Linked DNA regions of Homo sapiens: regions 2, 3 and 4 are each linked to region 1. The links are contacts of gene promoters, found by promoter capture Hi-C in blood cells and fetal thymus (Javierre and others, 2016). All regions are on one chromosome and are shown on one strand. Each heading gives the region's core, a stretch centred on a gene start or on the middle of the fragment in contact. The rest is flanking DNA. Distances are from core to core; before and after follow the strand shown. Region 1 holds the start of EXO1 (exonuclease 1). Region 2 overlaps OPN3 (opsin 3). Region 3 overlaps WDR64 (WD repeat domain 64). Region 4 overlaps OPN3 (opsin 3).

What was found. Contacts are between HindIII fragments. The CHiCAGO score rates a contact against its expected background, and 5 or more counts as called.
Region 2: a fragment that was not itself captured here is called in contact with the fragment with the promoter of EXO1 in region 1 in 4 of 17 cell types (naive CD8 T cells, naive CD4 T cells, total CD8 T cells and 1 more); the score reaches 7.2 in naive CD8 T cells.
Region 3: a contact is called between a fragment that was not itself captured here and the fragment with the promoter of EXO1 in region 1, in 1 of 17 cell types (total CD4 T cells). The highest score is 5.1, in total CD4 T cells.
Region 4: a fragment that was not itself captured here is called in contact with the fragment with the promoter of EXO1 in region 1 in 1 of 17 cell types (total CD8 T cells); the score reaches 6.1 in total CD8 T cells.

Annotation. Positions count from the first base shown.
Region 1 is chr1:241,846,801-241,850,632 of GRCh38, forward strand. EXO1 (exonuclease 1) reads left to right here and starts at 1,404. Exons shown (of 16, transcript NM_130398.4): 1 at 1,404-1,553; 2 at 1,931-2,227; 3 at 2,312-2,416; 4 at 3,609-3,786. The coding sequence starts at 3,626. RefSeq lists an enhancer at 1,100-1,439. The HindIII fragment of the contact is 5,044 bases long and covers 1-3,523 here.
Region 2 is chr1:241,614,100-241,618,393 of GRCh38, forward strand. All of the region lies in intron 1 of OPN3 (opsin 3), which reads right to left. Among named protein-coding and RNA genes, the nearest start is that of CHML, 24 kb to the right of the region's middle. The HindIII fragment of the contact is 1,487 bases long and covers 1,718-3,204 here.
Region 3 is chr1:241,669,890-241,673,646 of GRCh38, forward strand. WDR64 (WD repeat domain 64) reads left to right here. Exons shown (of 28, transcript NM_001367482.1): 3 at 1,185-1,287. All of the region lies in intron 2 of LOC124904603 (a long non-coding RNA gene), which reads right to left. Among named protein-coding and RNA genes, the nearest start is that of WDR64, 19 kb to the left of the region's middle. The HindIII fragment of the contact is 4,933 bases long and covers 1-3,757 here.
Region 4 is chr1:241,633,143-241,637,125 of GRCh38, forward strand. The region is part of intron 1 of OPN3 (opsin 3); the gene reads right to left. It overlaps CHML (CHM like Rab escort protein), which reads right to left. Exons shown (of 2, transcript NM_001381853.1): 2 at 1-2,931. The coding sequence starts at 2,624. The coding sequence ends at 654. Among named protein-coding and RNA genes, the nearest start is that of CHML, 5.2 kb to the right of the region's middle. The HindIII fragment of the contact is 645 bases long and covers 1,677-2,321 here.

The DNA.
Region 1 (3,832 bases), core at 154-2,653:
TCACAGTGCAGCAAACTCTCATGTTAGTTTTATGACAGATCCAGTGACACTGGAATGGACACCTTTTTGATTTTGGGGTTCCTTCCTAAGACCCCCATGTGTGATATATTCATGGTTGGATTCTAGGTACTGAAGCAGTTACTACAGCTGGATAGTCCAATGAGTGTAAGAAGGCTTCTCTACAAACACATGCTGCCCACATCGAAGTTCCTCTTTAATCTACTGCAGTTTGAAATTGTCCCCCACTTTCTCCAAGAGTCCACTCCAAGCTAGTTTAGGGTTAGGTCTACCATAGCCTTTGGAAGAGGGAGGGAAGATAACTTTTCTCATCTCTCCTAGTCCCAGCTCTAAAGACCAGAACCAGGGAGAAAGCAACACAGCTTTTCCAAACACATTCCCCAAATGTGGCACCTTTTCAACAATTTTAGTAACAAATTTAAGGCATCATAGATGCCTTTAAAATTGGCATGATAGATGTTAGAGTGATCATAAAAAGACTTTAAAAGAGGAAAAGATGTAAAGAACGTAATCAAATGGGGAGCATGTTTAACAATGTGCTCACTTCTTCCCCTTCAATTCCTTGAATTGAGTCTGCATTATCATTCCTATTGATCTTTGAGCCCAGAACATTACTTTGTGGTCTGGCCTAAGGTTTCTTCCAATTTTTTAAATTACAATATCCCTAAGAGGACAGCGACGAGGTCTGGGGTGTTATGAGGATTGGAAACCTAGCCACAAGTGACCATGAAAGTCCAAAATGCCTCTAAAGTCTTTGTCTCTAAGGCCCATTTTCAAGGTCTTGTTATATAGCTAATTTTTCCCCGACTTATGTCAAAAATAAACGAAGCTGGGTTCTAGGTAAAATGGTAGGGGCAGATTTTAATCACTACTACTACTGCAATGGGGAAAAGAACCCAGCGTGAACTGAATTCAATTTCGATTTGTAGAGGCAACCGGGCGTTTTAAAGAGAATGAAGGAATTAGGATGGGACTGATGACGCCGAGGGGGACTGAGCAACTTTTTCAGGTTTGAAAAGCCTCAACATCAACGCGCGACGGCGCTCTTTCAACATCAGCCTCCAGAACTGGGGCTGCAGCCAGGAGGGAACTACAACGCCCAGCAGCCCCGGCGGGTGTAAACACTCCCAACTTCCGAGGCGGTGCTCACCATCGGCCATCAGCGCCAGTGCCACTCGCGCCCTCAAGAAGCCGCACGGAGTTCGGGCCGGCAGCAGCGGCTGCAGTCGTATGGCAGTGAGCCGCTGTCTACCCAGCGAGACGGAGAGCTCAGGACGCAACCCTATGAGTTGGAAGCCGCAGGAGGCGGAACCGGGTTGCGGGATACGCGTTGACGTCACATCCTCTGGGCGGGGCCGCAAGGAACCCGCGCAAATTGAAAGGTCAGCCTTTCGCGCGCTGTGTAGGCAAGTTACCCGTGTTCTGCGTTGCCGGCCGTGGGTGCTCTGGCCACAGTGAGTTAGGGGCGTCGGAGCGGGTTTCTCCAACCGCAATCGGCTCCGCTCAAGGGGAGGAGGAGAGTCCCTTCTCGGAAGGTGAGAGGAGCGGGCTGTGCGGAGGCTAATGGGTGGGTTCCCTTGGGGGTCGACCTGCGCGTCACCTCCGACCCTCCTCTCGGGATTCGGGTCTTCCAGGAAGGGAAGGAGAGGGTCTGGCGTGATCTTCCCAACCCAACAGCGGAGCCCTTAGCCTGAGTGGAGTATGTGTTTTGTTCCGAGGGGACGTCTGGCAACCAGAGGTCTGCAGTTCAGTGAACGGAGGGAGATAAGAGAGCAGACGATTCCGGGCTGGAGCAGGCGCCAGGGTTGCCAGACTTACCTCATTTTTCCGCAGAAGCTGGCAGTCCAGGTTTTACATGCAATCTCTCCACCTTTAAATGTTGACAAGTACATTTTCCCATAATATTTTGCAGGCCTAAGGAAACGTGTCGTCTGGAATGGGCTTGGGGGCCACGCCTGCACATCTCCGCGAGACAGAGGGATAAAGTGAAGATGGTGCTGTTATTGTTACCTCGAGTGCCACATGCGACCTCTGAGATATGTACACAGTCATTCTTACTATCGCACTCAGCCATTCTTACTACGCTAAAGAAGAAATAATTATTCGAGGATATTTGCCTGGCCCAGAAGAAACTTATGTAAATTTCATGAACTATTATATCCGTTTTCCTCGGAGTGAGAGAAAACTCTTTTTAGATATCATCTGAGAGGTAAGAGACTGTTTTTCTGAAACTGTGGCTTGAGGACCACCTGCATCCAGATTAACTGCTTTGTTTAAAATTCATTCACAGCAGAACTAGTGAATCCCAGTCACTGAGTGGAGTTGAGAGTCTAAGAACCTCTGAAATTTGAGAACTGCTGGACCAGAGCCTTTAGAGCTCTGATAAGGTGTCAACAGGGTAAAGCTGCCTCCTGATCCTGTACTTTCTTTCTTCCTTTCCTTCCAAACTTAACGTTTGATAGGAGAGATTTGTATTATGAAATGCTAAGCAACTGCTCAGTGCCCATTACTGACTTTTTATTGTAGAGTGGGGGGAGGTCGTTTCATCAGAAAGGGTTGTGACAGTTCCAGAATCTCTGTATAGAAAGGGCTTAGGGGGCTGCAACCGGAATGGAAGGGGGTGGAAAGTTAAAGCATTTGTCTTGAAGCTGTATTTGCATAGCAGACGCAGTTTCACAGTTCTTTAGGGTAGCTTTCAGAGAGGCTGATGGAGTTGCCCCTGGGCGCCACCACTGTTTATTACCAGAATGTTCGTGCTTAGAATAATGCGTTCTAATAGCAGTGAATTTCAGTCCTAAAAAAGTACAGGATCATTTCTGTAATTCTTTTTGAATTTTTCCTTTGTTTTTTAATTGAAATACTTACCTTCCTACAAACTGTTTTGAGTTTCTACTCCTATTTGAATTTGCACGTTGACCCTTATGATTAATGCCCTTTGTAGAGGCAATGCGATGCCATCGCATGCATGGTTTTGTTTGTGCCTGGCTCCTTGAAGCATGTGTCAGGAGTGAAAGTGCAAAAGCACTTTGGAAAGACTAAACAAACAATAAGCAACAGTCAAGTGGCATTAGAGGTAGTATTAGTGATTAATGTAAATTCTACCCTATGGAAATTGTTTGATAGGGAGGAGCCCAGCTAAAATATTAAAGAGCAGTGATTCTTGAATATCTGAACAATTTCTGGCCGGGCGCGGTGGCTCACGCCTGTAATCCCAGCACTTTGGGAGGCCGAGGCGGGCGGATCACGAGTTCAGGAGATCGAGACCATCCTGGCTAACATGGTGAAACCCCGTCTCTACTAAAAATACAAAAAATTAGCCGGGCGCGGTGGCGGGCGCCTGTAGTCCCAGCTACTGGGAAGGCTGAGGCAGGAGAATGGCGTGAACCCGGGAGGCGGAGCTTGCAGTGAGCCGATATAGGCCACTGCAGTCCCTCCTGGGCGAAAGAGCGAGACTCCGTCTCAAAAAAAAAAAAAAACAACAAACCAATTTCTGCATTGGACTCCAAGCTTTCTCTTCATTTGTCTAAGATGTTTTAATAAATGTATTTTTCTTTAAATATTACTGTTCTCCCTGTCTCTTTTCATATCAGGTAGTTAATTTGGCACCATGGGGATACAGGGATTGCTACAATTTATCAAAGAAGCTTCAGAACCCATCCATGTGAGGAAGTATAAAGGGCAGGTAGTAGCTGTGGATACATATTGCTGGCTTCACAAAGGAGCTATTGCTTGTGCTGAAAAACTAGCCAAAGGTGAACCTACTGATAGGTAAGTCTGGACCTTATGTTAATTCTTTGACAATTAAGAATGAGAC
Region 2 (4,294 bases), core at 1,211-3,710, 230 kb before region 1:
GGAGGTTGCAGTCAGCCGAGATCATGCCAATGCACTCCAGCCTGGGCAACAGAGTGAGACTCCGTCTCAAAATTAAAAAAAAAAATTATGATTTCAGGTAATCAACTTATATAGAAATGTATTTCTGACCATTGTGTGTCATAGCTACCCAAATGCTTGCAGTGCATTTAAAACTGAGAGGCCCCTTAAGAGAGGGCCAGTGAACTACCAGAAGAGAACGATTGAATGAGGCAGGCCACATGCTGTGGTCTGTGGCTAGCTGCTCACAGTTTAAAATGCTGCACTGTTGTTTCCATTGTGCTCACTCATGCTATCCTTCACTGGTATTTCACATGCATTGCATTTTTTTTCTATTAAATTTAGTGACTTTTTAAAAAATAGGGTACACGGGGCAAATAGTTGCCATAGTTGTTAAAACATACGGACATTTTTCACCATAAGCATCTCCTCCTAGGCTACGCTGGGCACCTGTGCAGTAGCTTGGAAATCGTGCCAGGCTTACCTCCCCTCTGTTATCTTTGGTTCTTTTAATATCAGCTCCCCTTGTTCTCTGACCATTCTGGCTTCAAACTTGGCTTCTTTTCTGCCTATAGTCCCATTTGGACAGATATCCTAGCCTTAGGCTTTTCTGCCTACAGTCCCATTCGGACAGATATCCTAGCCTTAGGCTTTTCTGCCCATAGTCCCATTTGGACAGATATCCTAGCCTTAGGCTTTTCTGCCTATAGTCCCGTTTGGACAGATATCCTAGCCTTAGACTTTTTGACTTGCCTCTGATTTGACAAAGCTTTAGGCGTTTGTTTCCCCCCAGTAATTGCTTAAACTCCACAAACCATAACCAAGGAAAAGGAGAGCCCTATCTTGGAATAGGACCTCATTAGAACTTTTTCCACACTTATGCCTCTGCTCGTCAGGAAAGGATATTGAACAAGATGGTTAACAATGCAAAAAAGGATCATTATTACACTAAGAGACCCAAGAAATATCCAGTATGACCAGAGTCTATGGGCTGAGTGGGAAAAAAGTTTGAATATAAAGTAACTTCTCTGTGGAATTAATTAAGGTTCAGAAGAATAACAAACATAAGCACAGTGGGGCCAAAGTCTAAAAAAAAAAAAAAAAAAACAGTTGGATGAAAGCACTTAACAGGAACTGAGAATTCTAAATTCTAATCCTAAATCAACTGCACTCATAGAATAAAAGTGTGAAGTGTGGTACCACAGATAAAATGGGAGGCATACGCTTTGTTTCCAACACTTAAAATTATTTCGTGAACACAGCAATCTAGGTTTTATGATAACCTACCACAGTATGCTCAAGAAAACTGCATCAGACTCTGATCCACTTTAGGAACACATTGTTTTGCTTAGTTTTCCCATTCCTCTATCCCCTATCTCGTATTTGCTTTTAAAACCAACAGAAAGCCTTTCTTAGGAAACATTTCTAAATTCATTTCTGTGCCTCATACCATTCCCACTATTCTAGTGCAGGTTCATATTCCGTAAATGACTGCTGTCAGCCATCTATGACTAAATTTCTTTTGTTTGTACAGCCTTTGTCATCCTCCTGGGCACCACATACCAGATTAATCATTGACTGGACTCTATTCGTGTGCCATCCCAGATCTCCGTGACTCCACTCACAAGCTCCTACTCCCAACTGTGTGCCCTATTTGCCTTGCTTCCCAGCAGCGGTGGCTCTATGACTATAGTTACAAAGCTTCAGCTGCTGCCACTGTCACCACCATTGCATACCTGCATGCAGATAGTGCCTTGCTGCACTGGACCCATGGAGGCTCTGGCTTCCCTAGTGGCTGCCTGAAGCTGGCTGATCCAACCTAGAGGCAAACGGACATTAACATCTCATGGAGCAGAGTTGGACCAATGGCCAAGAGACAGGAAGAAGCCAGAGATTAGATTGCTTGCACTCTCCTGTCATGCCATGGGTTGTTTCAAGCTGCGTTAGTATCAGGTGGTCTCTCTGAAGATGTCCTGCAAGACCCAGTGACCAATCGTGGCCAACTCGGTGGTGCATCCTCTCTCTAAGATTTGGCCTCCTCCTTTCCCTGCCTCTTCCTCTATTCCCTTACTTTTGATTCCCTGGGATTATGATCCCCAATAAAGCATTAGCATATATGCTTTGCCTTAGGCTTTATATGCGGGGAACGTGTGCTAAGATAATCATCTTATTACTTTCACAAAGCCCTTTCTGGAATAATGACCTGCAAAGCTCCCTTCGCATAGCATGCTGGCTATTAAGAAACTCTGTGTATTTCTTGCACTACCTAGTCAACCTTCTCTTTCACCATTTATAACTTCCTTAGTGCATACCTCACTCTGTCCGTCCACAACACAAACAGACTATCTTCATGGCTGCTATTTCCTACTTACTATATTTTGGTACAATTCTGTGTACTTATGTCTTACCTCTCCAATTAAATTGTAAACTTAAGTATGACATACTTAAGTATGTCTTTGTATTTTGACATCATTTTGGCACCGAGAATAGTACAAGGGATTATTATGTATTTGCTGCTGATAAAAGTTATATACACATGACCATGTTTCTTTCCAAATAACAAGGAAAAATCCTGGAGTAAACATGGTCATCCCTGTAATTAACCAAACACTCAGGTGAAATGTTGCTTAGAAATAGCCACAGTTGACATTTCAATGAAAAATTTTTTTTTCCCTCAGGGAACTAGCAATACACAGGTCAGAAGAATGTAAAACAAGGCCAACTCCCTGCTGTTTTTTACCTAAAGGATCACTTTTTCAACTCAAAATATGATTTGACAGTCCTTACATGATAATTTTTGGCTATTAAAAAATCTATAAAATATTCATTTTTATGAGTGTTATAAAGTCAAATGACAATCCTGTTGGATTTATCATCTCTTATTCTCTAATCAAAATAATACATTATAATAACTTTATTTCATATGATATTTTATAATTTTCAAAGTACTTTTTAATGTATTTTTCTAATTAGATCTTTCCAGACATGTCAGGCAGGAAAGTCTCATCGTCCCCATTTGATGAGAGTGTGAGAAAAGGGGCTGATATCCGTGACTAGCCTAAGGTCACAAGACTAGGAAGGTTCTATTTGAATGAGAACCCAGACCTTCTGACTGCTAGTGTGGAGCTCTATTTGGATTTTCCCCAAAAAGATTACACAAAGCAAGTTGTTTCTCAGCAATGGCGAAGCTTGAGGTCTTTTTAATTCTATGAAAACATTCAACACATGAATAAATTGTGGAATAGCTCTGTGACCTGCAATGATGAGTCTAGTTTCTAAGTGTTCCTTCCTAGATTATTAACCTGACAGCAAATGAAAAAAATCCGATATCCCAGAAGAGCAAATGAAAAATATGAGGGAATCTCAGAGGCACTGAATTAAATCTTCATTCCATCATTTATAATTTACAAAGCTCTCAAGGGAGCTCAGGGTTTAGGTTTTAGAGCGGGTGATAACAACACTGATTCCATTTAAGTCATTTTCTATTACCCTGCTGCTGATGCAAATGGAGAGCACGGAAACACAGAGGGCGAGTGCGACTCTTCTCTCAAGAATGAATATCACACGCTCCACTGTAATTGTGTGTGAGTAATTAATCAACCAGAAAATGTGATGTGATACCTCAGGACCATATGAGAAGAATGAGAGAAGAAGCTTGTCATATATAACGTGCTAAGGAAAAACATAATTGCTATATAGCCTGTGCAGTTCTATGTTTGGGCAAAATGCTTTAAGTTGTAAACAAACTTGTGAGGTGGAGGCGTTGGAGTATAAAGCAAAACCCATATTGGTGACCAGTGTGGAACAATCTGGACAGGCAAGAAAAATCTCATTTCCTTGGAAGTCTTAGTCATCCTGATCTGAGAATGTCAAGTAATGAAGAACTAAAAAAAATAAATAAATAAAAATAAAAAAAAGAAGGTGGGAGAAGGAAACTTTAGAAATATGAGATATTTTCCCCAAGACCACAAAGTAGGTGTTAGAACAAGGCTAGTTCCCAGACCCATTCACATTCTACTATTTCAAGCTTCTCTTCCACACTGTCAAATTGGGGTTAACATGAATTTAACTCATCTCTTTGATGTTCAATTTAACACCTTCTGGATCAGAGCAGCATGTCTCTTTCCTTTAATAAGAATGCTGTTTCCAAATGCCAGCTTTTGAAATAGCTACATACGAAACTCCTGAGGAGATGGTTTAAAATGCTGATTCCTAGGCTCTGCCCTTGAAAATACTTGATCCAGTAGGCTTAGGACAGAACGTGAATATCTGTAAG
Region 3 (3,757 bases), core at 1,202-3,701, 180 kb before region 1:
CAGATTCTCAGACCCACTCCAGACCTACTGAAGCCAAATCTGCATTTTAACAAGATATCCGGGTGGCTAGTATGCACAGTGAAATTTCAAAAGGATTCCTCAGTTCATTTCGTGCATTCAACTTTATGAGAAATACTGATATACTAATTATATAACTTTTATAAGCATTTTATTAATTTCAAAATTTAAATACATAATTATTTTTAAGTTCGCTCATTAATTTATAAGAATTTTATTTCTGTTGGTTAATAAGACAAAGAACAGCTATCTTATTTTCTTCATTTTTCAGAGTTATATAATTCGACAGTTTATTCACAAATAAGAACTCTTTTCTTCCTCACAATTTTTTTTTCATGGTAATTTATTCTCACGCAATGCCTACAGAGTAGGATTTGGAACACTTAAAGCAACTCTTAAGTTCCCACCAACAGGCATAAAAACTCCCCCAACAGGGATAAAGAAAAAAAAAATCTAGCCCTGAAAAATTCATGGAAAATGGGTAAGACAGTCATTTGAGAGTGGCCAAAGTCAGTGTCAAAGTTCTTAGCTGGGGCCCTGCATGATGAGGACTGATTTGATTTCCAAGTAAGTGCCAGCTCCGAATAGATCTATCAGTCTGAGTGTCAGTTCTATTGAAAAGAAAAATCAGTAACCGCTCAAAAATCATGCATTATCAGTATACAGTTTGTTGAATATATTAAACCAGGGGTCCTCAACCCCACCAGTCCATGGACTGTTAGGAACTGGGCCGCACAGCAGGAGGTGATCAGTGGGGGAGAGAGCATCACTGCCTGAGCTCCGCCTCCTCTCAGATCAGCAGTGGCACTAGATCCTCACAGAAGCGTCAGCCCTGTTGTGAACTGTGTATGCAAGGGATCTAGATTGCATGCTCCTTATGAGAATCTAGTGCCTGATGATCTGAGGTGGAAGAGTTTCATCCCGAAAGCATCCCCTGCCCTGGTCCGTGGAAAAAGTGTCTTCCATGAAACTGGTGCCTGGTGTCAAGAAGGTTGGGGACTGCTGTATTAAACTGTCTCCTGGTATAGGGAACCCCCTGACATTCACAAAGCAGGGTGCTGGCTGTTAATCCTAACTAGCTTTAAATTCAGCCAACATGAGATCTGCTACTTTATAGCTAATTCTGAGGCATGCTGCATATTTATATGTGCTGTTTGGGATTTCAGATCTTTGGATACTTCTCCTCTGAAGAAGATCCTATTGCTTCCCAGTTGGATGAAGAAAATTTGGTTTTCTTTGTGTCTAGAAAAAGGCGAATTTTAATTTCAGGTGACATTTTAATTTTCTCTTCCAAATTAGTATGAGTTTTAATATTTTCCTCAAGAATACTGGAACTATATTTTCCATAGAATCACTTTTCATTTTATGTATTTGTTCAATACTTTATCACTAGGTGTCGGGGGTGGTGAGAGTTTCATATGCAGTATCAGAAGAAACTCTACTACTGTTGAAATGGAAATATTATAATTTCTTTGAAGGACACTAAATAGAGAATGTGATGGAAGAAAATTCACATTTTCCTGAAAAGGCTCAGACTTCCAGTTAAACCTCTCTGCAATGATGTCACAATAATGCATGCTCCAGTAAAAGAAGTCATGTTTCTTTTAAACTATTCTTAAAATTAACTTTTTGAGTTTTCACTAAACATGACTCTTCTATTCACTCTCATCTACCCGGGATTATCTTAAAGATGTTTAACCTGACATCTCTTGAGAGCTTGGGCCAGTCATGGATGGGCACTGTCCCAGTCTGGGAAGTCTCTAATGTATGTGTTCTTCATTTTCAACTTTGAGCCTGGGACCCAGGACCTCCCATCCCTCTCCACTCTTAACACCTTGGGGTTTCTTCTCCTTCTTCCCTCCATGGTGGGAGGAGGTCAGGAAGAGGGAAGACAAACTTTCAAACCTACTCCTGTCTTCCAGCATTTCCTCTCATATTCTGAGATGAAGGTCAAATGTGATGTCTCTTAAAAAAGTACCGGGAGTCTGGGCACAGTGGGTCATGCCTGTAATCCTGGCACTTTGAGGAGGTCAAGGGGGGATGGATCACCTGAGGTCAGGAGTTCGAGACCAGCCTGGCCAACATAATGAAACCCTGTCTCTACTAAAAATACAAAAATTAGCCAGCCATGGTGGTGTGCACCTGTAGTCCCAGCTACTCGGGAGGCTGAGGCAGAAGAATCACTTGAACTCCAGAGGTGGAGATTGCAGTGAGCTTAGATGCCACCACTGCACTCCAGCCTGGGTGACAGAGACTCTGTCTCAAACAAACAAACAAACAAAGCACCTGGAAGGCTTTGTGAGCCAAACCCACCTTCATCCTTGACTCTTTCTTAGTCCAACCACTGACCTCAACAGAGCCTGGCTTCTGGCCATGGGAACTAGAAAAAAAAAGAAAAAGAAAAAGAAAACACACACACACACACAGACACAAAAGGGCTGTCCCTGCTGCCACCACACTGAGCTAAGGAGGGGCCCCAGAGCAGGGGAGAAGTGTGGCTGGCAGTCTATGTTAGGGCTTTGCAAGTATTTTTCTAGATGGCAGTTGCATTCTGTAATTCATTTATCACTCAACAAATATTTGCTAAAGTCTACTATGTAGGCCAGACACCTTTCTAAATGCTAGAGACAGAGCGGTGAACAAACAGACACAAATCCCTGACCTCATGGAGTTTACATTCCAATAGGGAGAGGCAGACAATAGCAAAAATTAAACAAGTAAAATATACAGTATGTCAGATGGTAATACACACTATAGGACAAAAAGCAGGTTGTGGGGAAAATAAAGCAGGAATGTGGGAAGGAGAAGGTGGTTTGAGGATGGGAGCATGGTGGTTGATGGGGTGGTCAGGGAAGTCCCCACTGGGAAGGTGAAAAAGATCTGTAGAAAGTGAGAGAGCAAACCATGCATTTCAGGTAGTGGGGAGAGTGGTGGGAGCTAAGGTTGGAGAAGCAACGATGGGAGTGGGGACAGGTGTACTGGGACTTGTATGACATGCTGAAGACTTCTGAATGAGGCACAAAGCTACAAGGGGGCTGTGGATAGAGGAGGGAGTCACCTGAGTTATCCTTTATATTCTTTTCCAGCTTCTGCATTTAAAATAGTCTGTACTAGTTCATGTCCTTTGTAGGGACGTGGATGAAGCTGGAAACCATCATTCTCAGCAAACTATCGCAAGGACAAAAAACCAAACACCGCATGTTCTCACTCATAGGTGGGAACTGAACAATGAGGACACATGGACACAGGAAGGGGAACATCACACACCAGGGACTGTTGTGGGGTGGGGGGAGGGATAGCATTAGGAGATACACCTAATGCTAAATGACGAGTTAATGGGTGCAGCACACCAACATGGCACATGTATACATACGTAACAAACCTGCACATTGTGCACATGTACCCTAAAACTTAAAGTATAGTAATAAAATTTAAAAAAAAATAGTCTGTAGTGTGGAAGGGGTGGAAGCAGAGAGAATGATGGTGGCTTGCAATAGGGCAGTGTTTCTCCATCTTTTTTTTTAAATTACTGAACCCTAAGGAGCCTTTTTAGACTTTCTGTTCCTAATTGCCTTCCCCTCTGCCTTATCCTGCTCCATGCCATTTTAATGCCTCAGGTATTAATTACTAAGTGTATCCAATTATATACTACATGCGTATCTGTGCTTTCTGCACAAAAAGAGTAAAATGGATTCATGTTCCCTCCAAGAACTAATTTGTACCCCTTTGGGGGGCAATA
Region 4 (3,983 bases), core at 749-3,248, 210 kb before region 1:
CTGTGGTGGCATCATTGCCTCATCAGTTACAAGGGTCAAGTGAGTATTATAAACTTCAGACCTTCACAGTGCATAAAGGATCATGCAAAGCTAATCTTTAAACGATTATAGACAAATGTATTTTATTATCATATTGGCATTTGTATTAGTTGCTATTCCTACCACCATGTCTATACATTTATATTATATGCAAAAGATCCACATAATTTACCATTTGTGTATGTTTCACTATTCGAACAGGCCGCAGCAACTGTAACAGCTGCAAAAGTAATTAAAATATTACTTGGGTATTACTAATTGTTCTGTAGACAAAGATAAAATCTGAAGATCATTAGCAAATACATTACCTTTAAGCTGAGTTGCTAATATGGAACCCTTACATATATACCCAATACTAAAATAAAGCTAACTCTGTTTTAAGATTCTGGGTCATATAGCCCATTCTAAACAAAATGTTCAATAATCAATAAATCACTCATTGATAGGTTAACAAAGATATTCAATGCTGAATGTCTGAGAGTTAAAGACAACATCTGCATAGCATTCATCATATATAACCACTTCTAATTACTCATATGGGAAACTGTCCTTTAAATGAGAAAATTCTGATGCCATGAAGGAGGTCCAAAACAGCATTTCGAGATTGCTCTTTTCTAATTTTGAAGGTGCTTCTCTGGGCTTTCTAGGTTTTTGCTTTCCTCAGAGGATTCTAGTTTGGCCATTACTACATTATTGGTTCCAGGAGCCTCTGGCTGCTTATCATCACCATCAAAGATAATGTCTTCTGGATTTGGAGGTGGAGGGCAGAATTCTTCAGTTGGAAAGATCTCCTGGAAAAGTGTTTCAGCTTGCTTGACAGCATGCTCATTTCCCAGGCCACAGTCAGGCCCAGAGCAGACATAAACATTGGAAGGCAAGCCATTATACGAGCTTCTGCTGATTCCCGAGGAATCTCTCATATTAAAATAAAGAGCCCACAAGAGTCTTGGCTTTGTAAGTTCTTCCTCGTTTATTTCTGTTTCAGTATACGGAGTGAATAATTTCTTCACCACTGATTCTAAGTCTTCTCTTGCTGTTTTAGAAGATGAACATGTCAAATGTACCAGATAGGTGTCCTTCATGCATGTCATGGTTGAAGAACATAATTCTGTGACCCGTACAGCACAAGCTCCTGGCTCTGCTGGAGGAACTATCAGAATGGAAGTCTGCTGATCTAAATCTGTCTTTAGTATAGACTGATCTGTAATGAGTACTGCCCTAGAGATCTGCTTATACTGCACATTTGAGCATGTTTCCTCAGAAAGGTAACTGTCTTCCACAATAAAATATTTAGCATTTATTCTTTGACCAAAGTGATCTATAATTGCTTTACATCGTCCAGATTCTTTGTCGACTACAAAGCATTGTACTTTATGACGAAGACAATAGATTCCACCAAAAACTGCACACATCCTACAGAAACCCTGGGGAATTTCTCCTTGGCCATACAAGGGAAATAAAAAGGGGGTGTTGCCAAACCGTCCGAGACACTGAAGGAAGTTTTTAGTTGCGTTAAGACCATCTATTGTAGTGCAAGATGATTCTGATGTCATTGCAATTGAGTGCAGTACAAAATGTTGAAGGTTGGGAGTTAGTTTTTTAGTTTTTAAGTATTCTGAAAATGAACACTGCCTGAAAGCTTGGTATTCATCAGGATGTTGTTCATACTCTAAACAAAATGTGAGAAATTTCATTAGCATCCTCTTTTCAACCATGGTGAGTTCCTTGCTATTAAAGACATCTGCTCTGGAACAAGGAACTTGTTCTACCTTTCCTTCCCGAAATGCAAGAATCCTAGTGACATTTTTAAATTCTACATAACGACTAACATCTGATTTGATTAAAAGATCAATTAGCAATCCTTGAGAATACAGCAGTTTTGACACCAAATCAATATTAAACCTCCTGCCTTCTTTAACTATTTGAGAGTAAGTAATCCTATTTCTAATTGGTTCATCGGCCTTATCTTCTACTGTAGATTTGCTTTCATCTTTATCTCCATCTTTATCTGAAACTGTGTGCATACAAGTTTTATCTCCACAATACTTTTCCTTCTCCACTGATTCCTCTACATCAGTTACTTCTAGTGAAATCTCTGTATCACTTTTCTGAGTGTGTTTTGCAGGCATTTCGTCGCTATTAAAATACGATAACTGGCTTTCTTCAGGTAATGCAGAATCCAGAACTTCAGTGAAGGTATTAGACACCCCCAAAGAAGGATTTTTCTGCAGAGCACCAATCTCTTCAACGTTGTCCTCCATATCCTGACTGGCGTAGCAAAAAGCTTCTGTGTGTTGAATAGTTTCATCCTTCTTGCGAAGAGTGATGGCTTCTTCTGTTTCATGGATCAGGTCCTGCCATACAACAGTACTTTCTTCCCCAATGTCATTGTTTTGCTGATACTCCTTCAACCAGGATAGCAATCCTGAAAAGCTGAAACTAGCCCAGTTTCCTCCATAGTAGCTTCTTGAATCAATATGCAGAACCCTCTGACCACTTCTTGAACATGCAGCTGCAAGGATGGATTCGGGCAAACCTGTCCCTATTATAACCACATCAAACTCTGTGGGAAGATTGTCCGCCATTTTAGGAAGTAACAGCGTCTGGTGACAACTGCTGATGAAAGAAATGAGGTGTGATTATGCTGTAATAAAATCTGTCCTTCTGATGTTCCAGTTATCCCAGAAGCACTGAAGTTGCAGGTCCTAGCTGTTTAACGGTTACCCTTTTAAAATATTTTTTTTCTTATAAGTCAGTAGCATAAAAACATGAGCAAGTACATCTAATCACATCTGAGAATACTAAAATGGATGTGTGGTTTCATTTCTGCATTTCATCTTAGCAGTAAATGTCAAAATGCATCATATATGCATTTGTGACTGGAACTCTTCTCTGAAAGAAGAAAATTCAAGAAAGAATACATTGTAAACAATATAAGAGAAAAATAATTTCATGCAACAATGACAATCCATTGGAGTGTGACATCTTATTTGGACATAAACCTCTACTAAAGCATGTCTTAAATGCTTTCTCACATATTTTCTAATTTCTTGAGAATGGACAATAGAGATATAACAGCCCTCCCAAGAATCAGGCAACATAGTAATAGAGAATGAACATAATGTTCCACAAAAATAAAGAAGAAATAACATAATACAATTCTCTAACTTTAGCTTTTAAGAAAACTATCATGTGAATAAATCTATACACAGCTGTGAGCTTAGACTAAAAGGAACGCATGGCTCCACTGTTTATAGAAACAGATTATAAACTATGTGCATACTGCCATGATTCAAAATATTTCTGTGGCCATTACAGTCTATGTGTGATTCCAGAACAGCTGAATATAAGACCTTTCCATGCCACAACCACCCTTAGGATCTCATGGTAGCAACATGAGACTATTTCTACTCAATTACTAGTCAGATTATTACAAAAGGATTAATTCAGTAAAACAACTGGCCATTTAAAAATATTTAGGCTCATAATAGCCCTGAGGAGGAAAATGTATTAAAAATATTATATGAATGTACACATGCATATAAGTAATAAAGGAAAAAAGTGTGTAAGTGTAAGTAAAAAAGGAAAACTTCTGATTTCATATTAAAATATCTTAACATAAATAATACCTACTTCTAACATTTGAATACAGTGATGTTTGCATTTCGCCACTGTCTCTGCAACCCTGAATCTCTGCATCCCAAGCAAAAGGTCTATCTAAACATCCTCTGCCAAGACTAACACTGTTTGTTCTTATTTTTGAAGGGGAAGTTTAAAAAAAAAAAAATAATAAGGTTCTCCTGTTAACTTTGAGCATAATGCTGGTTACATTCCATGTGCGGAAGACATCTGTGTGATGCCCTGTGTGGCCAGAGGTAGAAAGGCCAAGGTGCTGAAGAGCATACTCACCTGAAAGTCTTTAGGCTAAAGCAACAATACTGCTA